Linked DNA regions of Homo sapiens: region 2 is linked to region 1. Evidence: promoter capture Hi-C in 16 types of primary human blood cells and fetal thymus (Javierre and others, 2016). All regions are on one chromosome and are shown on one strand. Each heading gives the region's core, a stretch centred on a gene start or on the middle of the fragment in contact. The rest is flanking DNA. Distances are from core to core; before and after follow the strand shown.

What was found. Contacts are between HindIII fragments. The CHiCAGO score rates a contact against its expected background, and 5 or more counts as called.
Region 2: a contact is called between a fragment that was not itself captured here and the fragment with the promoter of FAM199X in region 1, in 1 of 17 cell types (neutrophils). The highest score is 5.4, in neutrophils.

Annotation. Positions count from the first base shown.
Region 1 is chrX:104,164,941-104,168,371 of GRCh38, reverse strand. FAM199X (family with sequence similarity 199, X-linked) reads right to left here and starts at 1,919. Exons shown (of 6, transcript NM_207318.4): 1 at 1,390-1,919. The coding sequence starts at 1,586. RefSeq lists an enhancer at 1,577-2,077 and a silencer at 1,642-2,131. The HindIII fragment of the contact is 4,401 bases long and covers 926-3,431 here.
Region 2 is chrX:111,686,335-111,689,358 of GRCh38, reverse strand. All of the region lies in intron 3 of ALG13 (ALG13 UDP-N-acetylglucosaminyltransferase subunit), which reads right to left. Among named protein-coding and RNA genes, the nearest start is that of ALG13, 6.7 kb to the right of the region's middle. The HindIII fragment of the contact is 3,634 bases long and covers 1-3,024 here.

The sequences.
Region 1 (3,431 bases), core at 670-3,169:
GATCAATTAGTTCTGCTCCAAGTTTAATCATTGGCTTCAAAGGAATAGTCTTGGATTTGCTTGACTAGGTTTTATGACCTTGAACTCAATCTTTTCTTTCTGGGCCTGTTTCTTCATTTTTTGCAATGACGATTTAGAGTAGTCATAATAAATTTACTGCCACTTCCTTTTGAGATGTGTTATACTGATATTCTGATTATTTAACTATAACACCTTGTTTCCATAGACTATAACTTTCATTTATGTAAGAAACATCTTTTACACATTCCTTGTATCTGGTAGAAGCTCATTCAATCTACAGACTGATTTAAGGGAAGGGAGGGGAGAAATATGCTAAAGACATTAAAATATGGAAGAATTTGATCAAACTCACATCATAAACTTGGATCAGAAGTCAGAACTAGATTTCTTAATTTATCTCCAGTATTTTCCATAGCTGAACCCCTCTCCTAGAGCCTTAACCACACACCCCCCCAGCCCTTTGTATATGTATCTCAAATATCCACCTATGTTAAAACTTGAGGCTGTATCTAGAACGTCTTCAACCCACCCCCCAAGATTTGATCTAACACGTAAATGCTTGCATGAGAGAAGTCTCCAGAACACTACCTTCTACTGAAATCAGTTAGGAGGAGATACACCCTCTGAATAAATTTGTGTAAGTCAGTCCATCCTAAGCCTTACTCTGTCTCTTCAAAGGGGAAGGAAACCAAGGGATATGTCATATGAAGGAATCCTCCAGATTTAAGCTTACCAATTTTGGCAGAGCCTAAAGCGCTAAGGCAAACAGTTAATAAAGGAGGAGGAAAAAAAGAGAGAATCGACTAGTTTCCTAGCGCTCAACTAAAAAAAAAAATGGGGTAGGGGTGGTGGCGGCGGGGGGAACAGGACTGTGAGACAGATTAAAAATAGGGAAAATGAAGCTTCTAGCTTTAAATGTTCCACCTTTCAACGCCACTTTTCAAAAGATCTATGGATTGATCTTGAGCCATCCAAATTCCTCTACAGCGTACCGGAAATGGAAGGGGTTAAACTTTTGCAGATGGATGCAAACAGGGGCGTATCTAAAAATCAAGGGTGGGGGTTTGGGATTCGTAGGGTACAGATGGGGGGAGGGAAGGGAAGCAAGGGAGGGAGAAGGTAGGGAAGGGAGGAGTCGCTATAGCCAGAATATGAATGAGGAAAAGAGAGTAAAACGCCGGTCGAAAGGAAAATAGGAGGGCAGGGGTGAAAATAGGGAGGGGGGGCAGGGAAGGAGGCCGGGAATGAGCGCTGGTCGAAAGCAGGTGGGGGAGGGGGCGACTGGAAGCGCAGCCCGGGACGAAGGATCAGGAGCGGGGGGCGACCAGAAGTGGAAAATCCACCCCTGCCCTCAGGTGCAGTTCGTACCTGTTGGTGTGGAAGCGGTGGAGCGGGTCGGTGCGATGGCAGGAGGACAGCTGGCAGCCGAAGTCGCTGATGTCCAGGCAGCCCGGCTCCTCGCTCGGGCAGGTGCCCACCCCGCGAGGAGGTCCCAGGAGTGGGAAGGGCTCCTCGGGGGTTAGAAACTTCTCGTAGGAAGTGATGGCCGAGGCCTCGTCGGACATGGTTGGAGATGGCCTGGCTCGGGCTCCCTCTCTGGCCCTGGGCTGCTCCCGCGCCCGCCCCTGCCCCCACTCTAACCTGTCCGCAGTCGCCGACGCTCCGGGGTGTGCCCGTCGCAGCTCACTGGCAGGCTGGGCGTCGCGGCCCGCTGCTGCTTGCCGGGGTGCGGGGCCGCGCGAAGAGGCTGCTCGAGGCCACAGCGGCCCACCGGCCACCCAGTTAGCGCCCCGGTGGCCTCTGCAGCTTCCGCCGCCGCCAGACTCAGCCCGTCAGCGCAGCGCCGCCGCCCGGCCCGGCCAGGCCCGCCCCGCCCACTGCGCTCGCCGCTTGCGACTGCAGCAGTCTGCCCGGCGCCCGCAAGGAGGGGAAGGGCGGCGGGAAGCCACTCCCCGTGCCCCCTGCTGGACCGGAGGAGGAACTGAACCTCCGCCCGCCGCGGCCCCAAGCGGCCCGCCCCGCCCTCTACGCATCGAATCAGGGATTCAGGCCGCTAGAAAGGCTAGGCGCCTCTGGCCAACCTCCTCCTCCGCTTTCTCACTCGTACTCGACTACTAAGCAGGAACCGCAGTCCCAGAAAAGGGACTTGGCCAAGGTCACACTGCGGGTGCGTGAGAAAACATCCAGATGCCCTGGTTCCCAGCGCACTCTTTCATTCTGTCCCAATTCAACAAGTATTTATTGAGCTCCTGCAGTGTGTGCCCAGCACCGTGCAATGAGGTGTAGGAGAAATCGTCCAAGCAGGGAAAATAGTCCCTTCCTCACCCTTGATCACCTAACTCCAAGAACCCTACGCTGCAGCCACTCGCCTACTCAGAGCTGCTGGACACGTCGTACTCTTTTGTGCTTTGCGCCTTTTGCTCATAGGCACCCTGCTTGGAATGCCCTGCCATTTCTCCCCTGCTAATCCTTCAAACTCCAGCTCAAACGTTATCTCCTCAGTGAAGCCTTCCCTGACTCCCAAAGGAGACTAAGGCACACCTGCTAATTTGCCCCCTCCCTCCCGTAGAAAATATATTATGGAGCTTAACTTGTTCAACTTGAATCAACTTGTTAGGTGTTATATAGTGTACTTTGCTGTTTATCTCATCTCTCTTCTCTATATTCTGGGCAAGTGATTCCTGTTCTTGGATGCGTAAGATTAAAAAAAAATAGAGGAAACCCCAAGATTACTAATTTCTTACTTTGCCCAAAGAAGACAATTTTTAAAACTACCTAATATTATTTTATAAAAGGAAGCACATTTTCATATAAGAGCATAATTCTTCAATAAAAGCAATTCTTTGCATTAACTATATTTATGAAGAAACTACATTGATCCTTCAGGAAAGCATAGAACTTAAATAGGCGGAAAGGAGGGGAAAAATGAAAGAAGGCAGGAGGAAGAAGAGAAAGAGGGCAGGAGAAGTGGGGGGTTGTCACTAAAACAAGCCCCATTCAGTATTAAACTCTGTGCCTTGCCCTACCAATGCAACTTATAGTGAAAACAGCTTCTCCAACGTGCCTTTAAAATGTATACATTATCTTGCTTCAGTTACTTGGTTGTTTGACTGTTGAGCATGCCGGCTTTCTTTCATTGAGATTGCAAGAAGGTGTGTTGCATTGTGTATGTGGCTTTCAAAATGAATCATTCATTAATATCTAATGAGGCTGACCAATTTAAAACTTGTGGAAGTGAGGCTGATGATGGTTTGTTCTATGGTCCCTAATGCACCAATCCCCAGGGGTCTGAGGCCAGTGAGGCTGAATGGGCCATGGCTTAGTCCCCAAAAACAAGAGACTTGATTATCCAAATGAAACAAGAGTCAAGTGCTGCATGATAATGCAGGCACTCAGGTAATAGCACCAGG
Region 2 (3,024 bases), core at 136-2,635, 7.5 Mb before region 1:
AACATAAAGTCACAATTTTCTCAAATGAGAAAAACGTATTTATGAGGGCCCAGAAAACACTAAAGATTCTCTCCCTGGATTTGAATAGGACCTTTCCTAAAACATAACATTGATATACAATTATGATTATGGTGCTGTGAATTCTCAACCAGATTACTCACTTTTTAGATTATTCTCAGCAAAATTTTAATCCAAGTTGGCTTCCTCCTGCTACCCAGAGTATTTCTTTGTCACCACCTTCTACCACTAGTAAGCATTTTTTTAATATTAGCCTAAATAAAACACAATCAGAAAAATAAACCTATAAAAACATGATAAAATGCATTCCAAATAAAATGTTTGGAACATTTAGCATGTTGGGATAATATGATTGGAATGGAAGAGAGGTCTTTATAGTGAATGTTCTATTTTGATAGATAAACTATATCTAAACATTGTACCAGAGAGCTATGGACACTTAAGGATAATCTACTGTAAAGGTCTTGAGACCACACACTCTAATCAGAAAGAACTTCATAATGTATCTTGCTCAAGTTAAGTCAATTTTAAAACCATATATTTAAGCCATTATATGCATCAGTTTATTGTTCATTCATAAAACTAATTTTATAAGCACATAAATTGTAAATTTCTGTTACAGTTAATGTTTCATTACCACTGTGAGAGGAGATCCTTAAAAAACAATAGTAAGTCCTATTGGTATAAGTCCTTTTTGATTATTCTTCTCAAACCAGTAAAGTTTTGACATTAGGCACGATTATTTTATCACTTTGTATGTTTTAGAAAAAAAAAGTGAATATATCCACTCCACTCTGTTCTTTAGGAAAAAAGTAGCTTTTCCAAGTACAAGAGATCAACTAACTTGATCATCTTTTTTAGGCAATGATTGAACTTTTCATTTCACAGAGCATAATCCATCATTTTTTAAATTTGGTTCCTTAGATTATAAAGCTAAAGATGCTAACTCTTATGTAAAATTTTTTTACATAAAAGTTGTTACTGTTTCATTTTTTTATTCTAAGGAGTATCAAACTAACTACATTTATAATCTTTGTGAAAGTTTTCAAATCTCATTCATTTTTATGATTCCAATTCCACTTGAGATTCTAGGAGAAAACCTGTGAATGCTCACTACATACTGAAGATTAGAAAAAAATCTAGTAATTTCACTAAACTGCAATTAGGATTTGGACCCAATGCAAATGTGCACAACATAAAATTTCCTATACATTCTATAGATGTAGGAAGTTTATTAATTATATTATTTTGTAAATATATATTATGTATTTAATTTGATTTAATCACATTACATAGGTTGAATTTGGGGGTTGCTTTTAAAGTGTTGAGAGTTTAGTGTTTATTTTTGTAATCCAACAACTTTATCCAAAAATGCAGAAAATTTTTCTGGCTGGCCAGGAGGATAACATTTCAGTGTTGATAAGTCCATTGACTGTAACAGCCCAGGAAGCGTGCTAAAACAAAAGAAGAAAAATATTAGGTAACATGGGAGAAAATTCCATACTTCATCTGCTGCCCACTGATGACTGAATCTAACTTCCAAGAATATAGTGGTACTTCTAAAAACTGCACATGTGAATTTTTATATATTTTAATAAGTATACATACTAGGATTATTAAAGCAATACAAAGAGTACTATAAAATGTCAATATAAATTCAGCAGATACCTTATCTCCTATGTCAACTGATATATTTCAGAAATGATATTTCATGAAAAATGTCTTCACATGGCTTTGTAATACTTCTCAGGACTGGGCATATTTAAACTGAAGCACAATTCATTCATGAAAACAGAATTTAAAAATTGAAACCAAAAGTAATAGCTGCCAGACAAGATAATAAGCTGGGGAAACTACTAGACCATGCATGAAGACTGTGAAATAATCTTTGCCAGTAATTTACTATCATAACTTCATATACAATTAAACAATATACCACACCACCATGTATGCTGGAAATAAGGTTTTAAACATAGAACCATTACATCGGAAATTTATTTAAACCAATCGCTTAAATTAGAACAAACATACTACCCCCCAGCCTAGGTCTGGGGAAAATAAATGATTTACCTAAAATGAAAATATAACCAATTATTGGCTGGGTGTGGTGGCTCATGCCTGTAATCCCAGCACTTTGGGAGGCCAAGGCAGGCGGATCACCTAAGGTCAGGAGTTTGAGATCAGCCTGACCAACATGGAGAAACCCCGTCTCTACTAAATATACAAAATTAGGCCAGGCATGGTGGTGCATGCCTGTAATCCCAGCTATTCGGGAGAATTGCTTGAACCTGGGAGGTGGAGGTTGAGGTGAGCCGAGATCGCACCATTGCACTCCAGCCTGGGCAACAAGAGCGAAACTCCGTCTCAAAAAAAGAAAAGAAAATATAACCAATCAATTACTGATTCTTTCTCACTGCTTACTGCTTTTATGTGACTTTCTTGAAATTAATATAGAAAAAAAGACATTTAAAACTGTAAAAAAATAAAAATAAAATAAATTGGAGACTTGTACAGTTTCCTTCCTTTTCAGCATGAGTAAAAAGTCAGGATATGTTTATGAAATCAGTGTTTTCCTTTTAATGTACTAACACAAAATCAAAGCTGATTTAACATTTAGAATGAAAATACTAATTAAAAGTATCTGGAAAAAATTGACTTGCATAAAGCAGTTAGGAAGATAAGTTTATTCCTCTTTAATCTAGCTTCTCTCCTGACTCACTAAATAGTTCAAGACTGGCTTCTATGTTACACAGCCACCCTGACATTCCCTCTTCTCCAACATTATAGTGATAAGGACACCAACAATTTCACTCCTGAAATAATCAATGAATCTGCCTCCTCTCAGTTAAGAACAGGAGTCTTTGTTTTGTTCACTGATGTATACCAAGTGCCTAGAACAATGCCTGGCACATAGAAGGTACTCAATAAATATTTAATGAATGAATAAGTATTTACTGAGTGCCTAAGAGACAGAAGCAGTAAAACTAAAAGAAAAATTATGCTCCA